Regions from separate parts of the Homo sapiens genome. Here all the other regions are linked to region 3. Evidence: promoter capture Hi-C in 16 types of primary human blood cells and fetal thymus (Javierre and others, 2016). All regions are on one chromosome and are shown on one strand. Each heading gives the region's core, a stretch centred on a gene start or on the middle of the fragment in contact. The rest is flanking DNA. Distances are from core to core; before and after follow the strand shown.

Region 1 (4,431 bases), core at 923-3,422, 550 kb before region 3:
TCAGCCTGAAAAATGGACTCTGGTATCTCACTAAAGGCACCAGAAGCAGTGGTCAAACATCAAACTATTAAAAGGAAAAGTGGCACAGGTCTAATCAGAAAAATAATTCCATTGCCTACTTTGCAACAAGTTCTCTGCTCTAAGAGATTAGATTTTGGGGGGAAATATCACATGCTGGATAAAGGAAGTGGACGGGGAGATGACAGGGACAGGAAGAGGCAGGAAAGCAGGAGTCTGTGGCCTCTCCGTCAATGGAAGCCCACACGGAGGCTGATCAGGGCTGCTGGCTGTACTTATGGCTGTGGGTTGGCCGGTTGTGTATTGGTCATTCAGGTTAAGTGAAGCTTCTCTGTGCCCTTAGACTCTGCCCAGCACCTTGTCCTCCGGAAGACCATCCCCATCCAATGGCTCAGGACTCTCCTGTCTCCCCTAAGAACTGAAGGTAGGGAGGCTGGGTGCAATGGCTCATGCCTGTAATTCCAGCACTTTGGGAGGCCAAGGCGGGTAGATCACATGAGGTCAGCAGTTCAAAACCAGCCTGGCCAGCATGGTGAAAACCACAGTCTCTACTAAAAATACAAAAAAATTAGCCGGGCGTGGTGGCATGTGCCTGTGGTCCCAGTTACTTGGGAGGCTGAGGCAGGAGAATCACTTGAACCCAGGAGGCAGAGGTTGCAGTGGGCCGAGATCACGCCACTGCACTCCAGCCTGGGAAACCCAGCAAGACTCTGTCTCAAAAAAAAAAACGAAGATAGGGAGAAATCAGACAGCTTGGCCCATCTCTAACCAACAAGGGACTAAGCAAAAGCAATTTAAATGGGCTCCATGGGCCAGAAATTACAGTGGAACAGGCAACATAAGTGCTCAATAAATGCTGGTAATCTCATGATAAGGCAAGAGCAGCAGCATGGTGGGAAGGAGAAAGATGGGTTTCTAACTTCTAGCTCCAGCAGCTTACAAGCTACATAGTTTTATTATTTTACTTCTCTAAGGCTCAGCTTCGTGCTGTAATAATTATTATTTTATTGATTTAATGATTATAGCAAATAATATACTAAGGTAACTTGAAGAAAGCCTGGAAAATAACAGGTATGGAATAGATGGTAGTTCTGTTCCTTTCCTTTTTCTCACTGTCCAGAAGAAGAGAATGGTAATTCAGATAGAGACTGGACTGAAGTTTACCTTAACCTTTAACTCCTGCAAAAGTTTGTCTCTCTGTACTTCTCATATCACTGGTACCATTTGTTGGCACTTATTATGGATCAACACCAACCAATATTTTAAGTATCAGAAGATAAATCTGTTACTAAAGCAAGACATGGATAATAATCAGAAAAACCAGTGAAGACTTCTGCTTCCAGCCATCACAGAGTAACTGGGACCAAAACTTACGTTTCTGCTGAAACAGCTGTAAAACCAGTCCAAATGTATACAGCAAGTGCTTTCAGGTGCTGAACAACAGGCAGCTCAGGGCTACATGATTTTGGAGGAGGGAAACACGTGAGAGGCGCCCACAGTTGCCCTGGCTTCCTTCCTGGGGTGCTTTCCTTCCCGGCAGCACCCAGGTGGAACCCAAGCAGAGTGGTTTCATTGACGTGACATGACTGGGATTTGTGGGGTGGGGCTCTGGAGAGGACACTGCATGAAGGTCGCCCCAAAATTATGTATAGGGGTCCACCTCAGGTTCTTAGCCAAGAGCTGGTCTGAACCTGAACAGGGCAGAACTCAGTGAAACTTAGCCCTGATTGTCCATTGTGAGGGCTGAGAGAAGAAGAGTTATGCTAAGTTTTATTTATAAAAACAGGTGTCTGAGCTGTGGGTTGTAGTTTTCCAATCCTGCTTTAGAGAAAGAGGCATCCCTAGGATGAATTTCAAAACCAAAATAGACCTGCCCTTACAAAGATTAAAACCAAGCCTAATAGACAAGAGGATGCGCTAGTCATTTAACTGCCTGGCAGAGCAAAATGCATTACCTTTTAAAGGACCATAAGATAATCTAGACCCTTTATAATGTATAGCTCATAATATCCAGCAAATTAAAAGAAAATCTAGACATGTGAAGAAACAGGAAAATGTGACATACTTGACCTACTCAAAAAAGTGCTCAATAGAAACAGACCCGTAAAATTGGGTGTGGTGGCTCATGCCTGTAATCCCAGCACTTTGGGGCGACAAGGCAGGCGGATCATCTGAGGTCAGGAGTTCCAGACCAGCCTGGCCAGCATGGTGACATCCCATCTATACTAAAAATACAAAAGATCAGCCGAGTGTGGCAGCGCATGTCTGTAGTCCCAGGTACTTGGGAGGCTGAGGCAGGAGAATTGCTTGAGCCTGGGAGGTGGAGGTTGCAGTCAGCCGAGCACCCCAGCCTGGGTTACAGAGTGAGTGAGAGTCTGTCTCAAAAAAAAAAAAAAAAGACCCCTAAAATGACCTAGATTTTGGAATTAGCACAAAAGGAATTTAAAACAGTTGTAATTACACTCAATGACTTAAAGCAGAGGTCAGTAAACTATGACCTGCAGATTTGCTGCCATTTATTTTATTTATTTATTTATTTATTTATTTATTTATTTATTTATTTATTTATTTTTGAGACAGAGTTTCGCTCTTGTTGCCCAGGCTGGAGTGCAATGGTGCAATCTTGACTCACTGCAACCTCTGCCCCCCGGGTTCAAGCGATTCTCCTGCCTCAGCCTCCCAAGTAGCTGGGATTATAGGTGTGCGCCAACACGTCTGGCTACTTTTTGTGTTTTTAGTAGAGATGAGGTTTCACCACGTTTGCCAGGCTGGTCTCGAACTCCTGACCTCAGGTGATCCACCTGCCTCGGCCTCCCAAAGTGCTAGGATTACAGGAGTGAGACACTGTGTTCAGTGGTTTATTTTTATAAATAAAGTTTTATTGGAAGAAAGACACACCCATTTATTTACATTTTGTCTATGGCTGCTTTTCTGCTATAATGGCAGAGTTGAGTAGTTGCAGTGGAGTAACATCGCCAGGTAGCCTAAAATATTTACTCTCTGGCCCTTTCAGAAAAAAAATTGCCAACTGCTAATTTAAAGAAAAAATGGTTATAATGAGTGAAACAACAGGATATCTCAGTAGATAAATGAAAACTTGTAATTTTTTTTTTTGAGATGGAGTCTTGCTCTGTTGCCCAGGCTGGAGTGCAGTGGCACAATCTTGGCTCACTGAAACCTCTGCCTCCCAGATTCAAGTGATTCTTCTGCCTCAGCCTCCCAAATAGCTTGGATTACGGGCACATGCCATCATACATGGCTAATTTTTGTATTTTTAGTAGAGATGGGGTTTCACCATGTTGACCAGGCTGGTCTCGAATTCCTGACCTCAGATGATCCACCTGCCTTGGCCTCCCAAAGTGCTGGGATTACAGGTGTGAGCCACCGTGCCCAGCCAATATTTTTAAACATAAAAAATTAAAACTAAAAGTTACAATATCTGAAATGAGCCTAGCCGGGGCTTGAAGGCAAATCAATAGAAATTATCCAAACTGATGAACACAAGAAATCTGAAAAAGAATGGACCTTTGGCATGCTGTAAGACAATATTAAATAGCCTAACCTACATTTAATTGAATTCCCAATGATAGAGAAGAGAAAGAATGGAGCAGAAAAAATATATGAAGAAATAATGGCCAAAAATTTTTGAAATTTGATGACAGATACTGATTTACAGATCCAGATGTTCACGGCACCAAGCAAGATACGTATAAAGAAAAGCCCATCTATATACATCGTAGCTAAACTGCTGAAAACCAAAGATAATGAGAAAATCTTAAAAGTGGCCAGAGGGAAAGGACACGTACCTACAGCGGAACGATGATGAATAACAACTGACTTCTCAACAGAAACAATAGAAGCAGAAAATAATGGCACAACATATTCAAAGTTTTAAAAGAAAAAAACCCGTCAACCTTGAAATCTACCTAGAGACAATATCCTCTAAAAATGAGGGTGAATTTAGTATATTTTCAGATAAAAGAAAGCTTAGAGAATTTATTATGGCACATCTGCATTACACTAAAGAAAAATTTTCAAGCAAAAGAGAAATTACACTAGCTAGAAACATAAATCGACATGAAGTAATAAAGAACACGTAAATATTTAGATAAGTGAAAAGGCCACTTTTTGTTTTTAACATCTTTGAAAGACAACTGTTTAAAACAAAAATAATAATATGGTATGGTGGGTTCTGTTGAACATGTAAATGTAAAATATACAGCAGTCCTAGTATAAAAGTTAGGGAGAATGGAATTGTACTGTTTTAGGTTTTTATATCATATAGAAAATGGTACAATATTAAGTAAGTAGATAGTGATAAGTTAAGGATTCATGCTGAATAGCCTAGAGAAACCACCAAATAATACCACAAAGAGTGTAGCTAAAAAGAATATTAAATTTGTTTGGTTAGCC
Region 2 (4,634 bases), core at 1,168-3,667, 530 kb before region 3:
GGAGCACTGATTGAGGTTCTGGGGTCCTGGCGCTTTCAGATACTACCATGATCTGCTAGTCTACTGTGATTTTGCTTAAGAAGGGTTCAGTAGAGACAAACAGCATCATAAAAGTGTCAAATCCGTGTGTTCACAGATGCTACCCCAGACATCGGGTAAGACAATGACATTTCAGGCACTGTGGGATTGATGGAGTGGACAGCATAGAGCAGAGAGCTTACGGTTGTAGGTTACGTGGTACCAAAAGCCCATGCCTGTGCTCCAGGGACTGTTCTCAGACACATAAATGCAACCTCAAGGCTTTTGCTGAGTTTAGTCTTTGTATTCATCTGTGAGTGGGTCAAAATGCCTGTCTGCTGCCCTGGCCCTCTTCTGCAGCCATGCTGAGAGGAAATACAGGCTTGCATTTCTCCAGAGTTCCTTGAAAGCATTGGTGCTCAACTATCCCTGCCTTAACACAAATTCTTAGTCAACACACAACATTTGATCTCTGATAGTTTCAGTGGGTGGGTTCTATTCTTTTCAACAGATACCTCAGGGTTAGTGGGGGTGAGCTCAGATGCTCCTGCAATGGGCATTCACACTGGGCTTCTTGGAGAGCTGAATTCCAAGGTGGCCACGTTTCCTAAGGACATGGGAACTTAAGATGCAGGCAGGGATCCCATGTCCTACTGGAAGGTTTAAAGACTTCCTCAGCACAGTGCTGAGAAGATCCTGCTTTTTACTCGGGTGTGGGACAAGTAGTTATGAAGCCACAGAATGTTAGGACTGAAAGGGACAAAGACCCTCTCCATGTCTCTGCATGCTTGCATGGAGAACATGCATTGTCCAAGGACCCTCAAATCCCTGCATGCCCTGCGCATGCCCTAACCCTGAGGAGGTGCTGAACCCTTGCTGATGTGCAGAAGGGGTTAATCAGACCATGTGGACACAGGTAGCCCAAGGAACAACCCCCATGCCAACAGCACTCCATCCCGACCTCATACCATGTGCACAGCACCTGATGCTGGTGGGGTCAGGAGTGTGGCCTGTGCCACACTCAGAACGCGGGATGAACATAGAGGAAACACTAGAATGGCAAAGGCTGGTTGTCACCTGGGGGCCTCAGAAGCCACGGCACCAGAGGAGAGCTCAGGAGTCAGCCTGCTCCAAAGCTCTTCCTGCCTGTAGCATGCACCCTGTGCCTCCGGGCCACCAAAAACAGCAATCACGTCAGCTGAGACGCAACACACTGCATGCCGAACACACAGGAGAGCTCACACGCACAAATGTTCTCGGCTTCCCAGACACCAATGAAGGAGCTTATTATGAATATGAAGGATAATTAACGTATCTATTATTTTATTAGACATCACAATTCAAATACAATAAAGTATATAAATATAAATATATAATAAATGAAATATATAAAATACCATCTTAGCTTATGAAATTATCTTATATGATAAAATAATTATACAGATATATAATAAGCAATTAGGGTATGTTATATAAAATACTATAGTATACTCATTAATATAATTAGTATATTATATGATAAATATATATAATAAAAGACATCATACACTAATAGAGTATAATAGTCAATATAATTAAAATTATTACTTATGCAGTAATTAATTATGAGGTGATGTGTTCTTCTCATCTCCGTTCTCTAGAGGCAGGAACTAAGGCACAGAGAGGCCCAGTGACTTGCCCAGAGACACACAGCCCCTCAGTGGTGGAGCTAGGACTTGGACCCAGGCAGCCTGACAAGTGCGTGCTCTTACGCACAAGTGTCTGCCTGTCCTCCCGCCTATCCTCCCTCATGTGCTGGCTGCATCCTGCTCCCGTGGCCCCTGACCCTCAACTGCCCTTGTCATGTGCCCGTCATGCATCACAGGAAGGCTGTCATGGGAGTCCTGAGGTGGGTGGTGATAAGTAAGCAAGAAGAGGGGTTGCTGGCGTTAAGAGATTTTAGAAGTTGGAATTGCCAAAAATTGAGGCTGGATTATTAGGTGCATGGAGGACAGCAAGGAAGAAATGAGGATTTTGCCCAGATTTCCTGGGCGATGGGGAGGATGGGGTGCCATTCATTGAGATAGCAAAGAGAGGAGAAAGAGTAGGTTCCAGGGAGGGAGGACAGTTCTGGATGTGTAGACTGAGCAGCCTGTGAGGCATCCACACGGAAAGGTCCGAGGGAAGGGCCTTTGGCCATGCAGACTAGAAGCCCAGCAAGTCACATTTAGTGAGCACCTACTGTGTGCTCTGGTCACTCTAGGCAGGCTAGCTTATGTAGCCTTACAGCACCCAGCAGGGTCTGTGTTATTCCCATTTTATACGAACAGAAGCTGAGGCCCACCGAGGTTAAAACCCTACCCTCATGGACTTCCATGGAGGTTACTCAATGCCCTATGGGTTTGCCTTTCTGCTTCCCTTCATTCTTCACATAAACCCAGTGCTTTCTCTTCTTCCTTCATTCTTCACATAAACCCAATGCTGTCTCTCCAAAGTACAAGCCATGCCCTGACTGAGACCCCTCTGGGATGTTCTGTTCCTTCCAGGACACAGTTTAAGCCCAGTGACATGGGGAGACTCCAAGACACAGCTCATGCCCAACTTCAAAATCTCTGCTTCCACTATGTGCCTGAGCTCTCCTGCCTTGCGGGACTCTGCGTGGCTCTTGGAGCTCACCATGTGTTTTGTCTTGGGCCTTGGTCATTGTATTATTCAGGGAAACAGAATTTCTCTAGAGAAACAAAACCAATAGGATGTATGTAGATAAATAAGAGAATATTTATAATGGGAGTTGGCTCACTCAATTATGGAGGCTGAGAAGTCCCACAATATGCCAGCTGGAGCTGGATAACTAGGAAAGCTGGTGGTGTGGCTCAGTCTAAGACTGAAGGCCTGAGGAGCAGAGGGGCCCTGCTGTAAGTCCCAGAGTCCAAAAGCTGGAGAACCAGGAGTGCAAATGTCCAAGAGCAGACGACGGATGTCCCAGCTTGAACAGAGAGAATGCAACCTTCCTCTGCCTTCTTGTTCTATTCTGGTCCTCTATGGTTGGATGATCCCCACCACACTGGTGAGGGTGATTTTCTTTACTCAGTCTACCAACAAGAAATTTACCCAGTCTATTCAATTCAAATGCTAGTGTCTCCTGGAAATACCCTCACAGACACCCCCAGAGAGACTGTTTAGCCAGCTATCTGGGCATCCCTTAGCCCAGGCAAGTGGACACATTGAAATTGACCATCATGCTCATGCCACACTTCCCTAATGCATTTCTACCTTCTTAACTCCTGCTTTCCCTGGAGGTCTCCCATTGGCTGTCATCTTTCTCTGGGAAGCCTCCGGGACTCTTCTGTCTGTGCTTTGTGGCATTTCTCTGCAGTCCCAGACTTTGCTCCCTTTTCTTTACACGGCACTCACCCTACTGTATCCATCTCCCTCCCACCACCTTGCTAGTGCCTGCACAGAATGGCATGCAAAGGTTTTCGTAAAGGAAAGTAGAAATTCACAAGTTCAAGCTAGGATTTGAATTCAAGCTGTCAACTTTCCAAATTCATAAGACTTTTCCATTCTCTCAAGACGCTTTTCTGGTTGGGAAAAATTCCGGTAGGCAGACAAGATGGGGAAGATTGTTCCAGTAAGGGAGGAGGGTGTTCCTGGGAGTCCAGCTTTGAAATCACAAATGAGGAGGTTCCCTTTGAAGGACAGGAGGAGACCTGCTGGCCAAGGCGTGCTATGTGCTGAGGGAACAGTCTTGGCTGGGGAGCATGTTGTGTGCCAGGCAGAGGAGGTAGCAAAGTGCCCCTGAGGCAATGGAAATGACTGGAGCTCTTGCAGCCGAAAGGGCATCACGACAGGTGCTTTCAGGGGAGATTAACTTGGGGATGAATAACAGGGTGACTGAAAACCAGAGCTTCAGGGCCTGCCTAGGCAGCCCAGGAGATGAACAGTGCCTGTTGACAGCTTGCTTCCTGTGTCGGCCTGAATGCATGGGTTCTGCTCAGATCTACTGGCTCCTTGCTTTCTTGGGAGAGTGAATTACTGCCTCATGGTCTCAGTTTCCTCATCCGTAAAATGGGAATGGTGGCAGGGCGTGGTGGCTCAAGCCTGTAATCCCAGCACTTTGGGAGGCTGAGACTGGTGGATCAATTGAGGTCAGGAGTTTGAGACCAGCCTGGCCAACATGGTCTCTACTAACCTGTCTCTACTAAAAATACAAAAATTAGTCAGGCATGGCGATGGGGCATGCCTGTAATCCCAGCTACTGGGGAGGCTGAGGCATGAGAATCTCTTGAACCCGGGAGGCAGAGGTTGCAGTGAGCCGAGATCATACCACTGCACTCCAGTCTGGGCAACAGAGTGAGACTCTGTCTCAAAAAAAAGGTGGTTGGGGTGGGGGAATAGTGCTAACAGTCCCCATCTCCTATGGTGGCCATGAGGAATCTGTAAGATCACAGAAGCAGAGCACGCAGCAAGGCCTCCCTGGCCCGGGAGTGCTCAGAGCTGGGATCCCAGTGCAGGACGAGGAGGAGGAGGATGGGTGCCCTGGCTACAGGTCCTCTTGCACTAGATTGAAAACGGGGCCAGAGAAGCAGAGCTTGAGAGACGCTGGGAGAGGGAAAGTGAAACTGATGGTCCGGTGG
Region 3 (4,228 bases), core at 566-3,065:
TGCCCAGCAGGTTACTCTTGAAATCAGAAACAGAAGTTCATGAGAGGCAAGAAGACAGAAACAACAACTGAAAAACTTAGAGTGGATCGCTAACTTGCAGGAGCTGTGCAGCTTTGGCTTTGCAGGTTTTAGAAGCTCTCCCTACGCCACGTCTTTAAATATATGTATGTTCAATCAGCAGGAGGAAGGGACTAACAAGAGCCTTCTGCGGTAAGCACCTGCATCAAACAATGGCACTGATCTCAGAGGGATTTTAAACAGCTGTGCATAAACTTCAAAAGTAATTTGCAACCATATTAGTAAATGTCACTCTTCTTCCCGCTAGACACAGCACTTTTAAAAGAGATTAAGCATCCGCAGTAAGCCTGCCATTTTACAAGGGTTACCAAAGATAAGTTAGGGAAAATATGAAGATGATGATTCACAAGGTCGGGGTGTGGGGTGGGGTGGGGGACCCAGGACCTTAGGAATAGGGCTTGTCTATCACACAGCCTCGGGCAAGAAGGGCCCAGTGGGGACCATGGCTTCTAGGGAGCAAACCAAGGGAAAAGAGCAACGGAGTGGACCCTCCAGGCTTCTTGCCTCTCTCACGGAGCCTCACGAATCCCAGTGGTTTAGAATTTTCTTTGGCAAAAGAAAAGGTCAAAGAGGCCGGAGTTGACAGAAAGCATGGGCGGACTTCTCAGATCTTGTAGGTGGTTCTTAAAAGAATTCAGCAGGCTTGAGGTGTGCTCTCAAAGGGCAACTGGAACGTCAAGGACTTGGACACCAGGCACAGATGGTTCATTTCCCATGGACAGGAAGAGGGCACGGAGTGCTCCCTCTTCCCTCCACCTTCTCCAGCCTAGTCCCCCTCAGCCTGTGCCACTCCTGAATCATCTTTTATAGCACCACGTCCAGCCCGCACAGGGGCAGGACAGCCCAGGGAACAAGGCAGTCCTGTGGCGCTCTCCTTGCAGAAATGACCGGAGTCTCCCAATCCAGCCAGCCCGTGGACCTCTCTTCATGCCCACGGGGGAGTGCACACGCCTGTAGCATTCAACAGTCACTCTCCCATTGATAACGGTGGCTCTCGAAAATCCAATACCACAAAGATACTTTATTGCACAAACTTTGCTTGGTTAACCTGGCCCTCAAAGCTGGGGAATAACCTCACTTGAGGCTACAGGAATGAGCACGCAGATTTTTCTTTTTTTTTTTTTTTTGGTATCTTTCAAAGACCTGCCTCCCCCTCCCCCAGGCCCTTGACCAGAAACTTGGCTTGTTTAGAAGCCTGAGCAATGGCACCCCCGTCCGTGCTCCAATACATTCCCAGAAAAGGGGTTATGCTCCCCTGTGGACAGGATACCATCTCCAGAAAACATGTTTCCTCACGCATTTTTTTTTTTTTTTTTTACCAAGAATACAAAAACTTTCCACCTTCTTCCCTCCCCGCAGGCCCCCTTTCGTTCAGGTGAGAAGGAAAAGGGAGAAGAAAGGAGGAAGCGCCCCCAGGCCGGCGGCCCCCACCCGGCTAAGGTCGCCAGCATCCCGCATCCCGTGCGACCTGCGTCCCAGAAACCCAGCGGGGAAATTCTTCCCGGTGCGCTCTTGCGCCCGCTTGGTTCCATTTCCTACTCCGCCTGCTCACCCGGCAGCCCTCACCCCTTCCCGGAGGCTCTCCGAGGGGCCCGGGTAGCCCTTCTCGCCACGGGTCTCGGCCCCTCCAGCCCGCTCCCTCCCGGCGGCGGCGCGGGGCGCGGGGCCCTACCTGGAGCGAGCACGGCGCCGCTGCTGCCCGGTGGCGCTGGGACTGCGCGGGGACTGCGCGGGGACTGCGCGGGGACTGGCGGGGCTGGCGGGGCTGGCGGGGCTGGCGGGGCTGGCGGGCCCGGCGCACTGCGGGTGCGCCTAGAAGGCGGTGCCCGCCAGGGGGCGCTCGCCAGCCTCCCCGCCAGCCCGGCCTCCCGGGACCCGGCACCTCTAGCCAGGGACGCGCGCTCGGTCCCCCGCCGTGCGCCCCCGGTCCCGCGCCCAGGCTCCCGCCCCTGGCCTCCTTACCAGCCACTTGTCGCCCAGCTGCGAACTGGAGCGGGAGGCGGCGGCCGGAGGGCCCAGGACAGCCCCGGGAGGGCGGCGAGGCGGAGCAGGAGCGCCCCGGCTCCGGCCACATTCTCAGAGTCAGGAAAAGGGGCGAGAGGCCACATGTCTCCCTCTCGCCCAACTGAAAACGAAACGGCGCTCCAGCAGATTGGGTGGAAAGAGCTGGGTCTCTTTTCTCTGTTTTTCACGCTAGAAAGGGCTTGTAAACATTGTTCCTTTTAAAATGACCTACCCCAGGCATTTGTTTGGGCACACTTCTGTCCTGGGGTCATCGTTCCTAGGTGGCTTCGGACCTGGGACTTTTCCTGTATCTGCACATTGTCGTTTTATACACAATTGCCAAGGTGGGACTGCTTTCAACTTTACTGTGCTTGAAGCTGCAAAGGTAATGTTGCCGCCGTGCGTGTCATTTTAGGACTTTTTATGCCTTGCGGGTAATACTAATGATGGTCACAGGGAGGATAAACGGGGTGGTTTCTTTTTCTATACTCCATGTAACTAATTTCTCATTCAGGTTAGAAAATTATATGTCTGGTTACTAATATTCTTACTGAATGGTTTCCTTGCAATGATGACACCAAATAATTAAAACGTACTTGATTAAGACTTTTGTTGCTGTAGTGTACTAAGATCAGATTAATCTGAGAAGTAAAATAGTAATTTTTTGTCCTTTTTTCTTTTCTTGTTTTGAGAGAGACATTAAAAACGATTAAAACAAAACAAAACAGGCCAGGTGCGGTGGCTCATGCCTGTAATGCCAGCACTTTGGGAGGCTGAGGCGGGTGGATCGCTTGAGGCTGGGAGTTTGAGACCAGCCTGGCCAACATGGCAAAATCGTGTCTCTCCTAAAAATACAAAAATTAGCTGGGTGTTGTGGCACGTGCCAGTAATCCCAGCTACTCAGAAGGCTGAGGCAGGAGAATCGTTTGAACCTGGGAGGAGGAGGTTGCAGTGAGCTGAGATCTCACCACTGCACTGCAGTCTGGGTGACAGCAAAACTCTGCCTCAAAAAAAAAAAAGGTTTAACAAAAGCCAAAAGTTGAATTAGCAGCCTTCTGATCATGGGAATGTAGGATGTCAACTAAAAAGAACCTCAGAGGTTGGGAAGGCAGATGAAAAACTGAGGCCCCGAAGTGTTTCAAGACTTGATTAAATCACTCAGGTCTGCACTAGGAAGCGAGTTATGATGATGCCCCTAATCTATATGAACCCAAATAAAGCCAAAACACACACACCTTTTAAGGATAAAACTATATTCCATTAAAATTAGCCCCGCATTTGTCAATATCTAACAGCATTGGACTGACCCTCAGGCCAGAGGCTGTAGCTCTTGGAAGATCCTAGCCAGGAGGTTTGAGAGTGGCCAGTACCTCGGAAGTGCTGGCTCACTCTGACATCATCAGAACCTGGCATACAGTAGGCGCTCATTGGGTATTTGCTATGGAAATTAGGCAGGAAAGTGCGTCTGTGTCTGGAAACAAAGAGGCAAAGCTTAAGCAGTGATCCCCATGCAGATTCTTTCTGCAAACTACAAAACAGAAGCTTCCCTAGTTCAGACTGCCATCCATCTGGCTCTTTCTCCAATTGTTTTTCAGCGGATCCTGTTACAGTGCAAAGAAGAAATGGCAAACGGATAACAGCTACTGTGCCTAGAAGATGGTAGATTCCTCACGCTCCATATCTGGGTTTCTCATTGACAATTAGGCACTGAAAGGAAGCTCATATGTCCTGTTAATTTAATCAGTAGTTAGTGGCTTTAGAAAAAGTTTCATATATACACCAGGTATGATAAGGACTTTTTTTTTTCTTTTTGAGACAGAGTCTTGCTGTGTTGCCCAGGATGGAGTGCAGCGGCGTGATCATAGCTCACTGCAGTTTTGATCCCCCAGGACTCAAGTTATCCTCTCACCTCAGCCTCCCAAATAGCTGGGACTACAGGCACACATCACCATGACCAAGCTAATATTTAAAAAGATTTTTTTGTAGAGACGGGGTCTCACTATGTTGCCCAGGCTGGTTTAAAACTCCTGGGCTCAAGTGATGCTCCTACCTCAGCTTCCCAAAATGCTGGGATTATCGGGGTGAGCCACCATGCCCAGCCTGTGATGACTTTAGACGCACTACTCATATAATATTCATAATCTGA

What was found. The method cuts DNA at HindIII sites, captures the fragments that hold promoters and counts their contacts. A CHiCAGO score of 5 or more calls a contact.
Region 1: a fragment that was not itself captured here is called in contact with the fragment with the promoter of PRKCQ in region 3 in 1 of 17 cell types (non-activated CD4 T cells); the score reaches 6.1 in non-activated CD4 T cells.
Region 2: a fragment that was not itself captured here is called in contact with the fragment with the promoter of PRKCQ in region 3 in 1 of 17 cell types (non-activated CD4 T cells); the score reaches 5.4 in non-activated CD4 T cells.

What each region holds. Positions count from the first base shown.
Region 1 is chr10:6,026,591-6,031,021 of GRCh38, forward strand. The region is part of intron 1 of IL2RA (interleukin 2 receptor subunit alpha); the gene reads right to left. Among named protein-coding and RNA genes, the nearest start is that of IL2RA-AS1, 6.6 kb to the right of the region's middle. The HindIII fragment of the contact is 3,660 bases long and covers 343-4,002 here.
Region 2 is chr10:6,046,279-6,050,912 of GRCh38, forward strand. The region is part of intron 1 of IL2RA (interleukin 2 receptor subunit alpha); the gene reads right to left. Among named protein-coding and RNA genes, the nearest start is that of IL2RA-AS1, 13 kb to the left of the region's middle. RefSeq lists an enhancer at 4,347-4,634. The HindIII fragment of the contact is 9,510 bases long and covers 1-4,634 here.
Region 3 is chr10:6,578,461-6,582,688 of GRCh38, forward strand. It overlaps PRKCQ (protein kinase C theta), which reads right to left and starts at 1,816. Exons shown (of 18, transcript NM_006257.5): 1 at 1,751-1,816. PRKCQ-AS1 (PRKCQ antisense RNA 1) reads left to right here and starts at 1,965. Exons shown (of 2, transcript NR_036503.1): 1 at 1,965-2,467. RefSeq lists silencers at 1,818-2,067, 2,078-2,227. The HindIII fragment of the contact is 7,587 bases long and covers 1-3,571 here.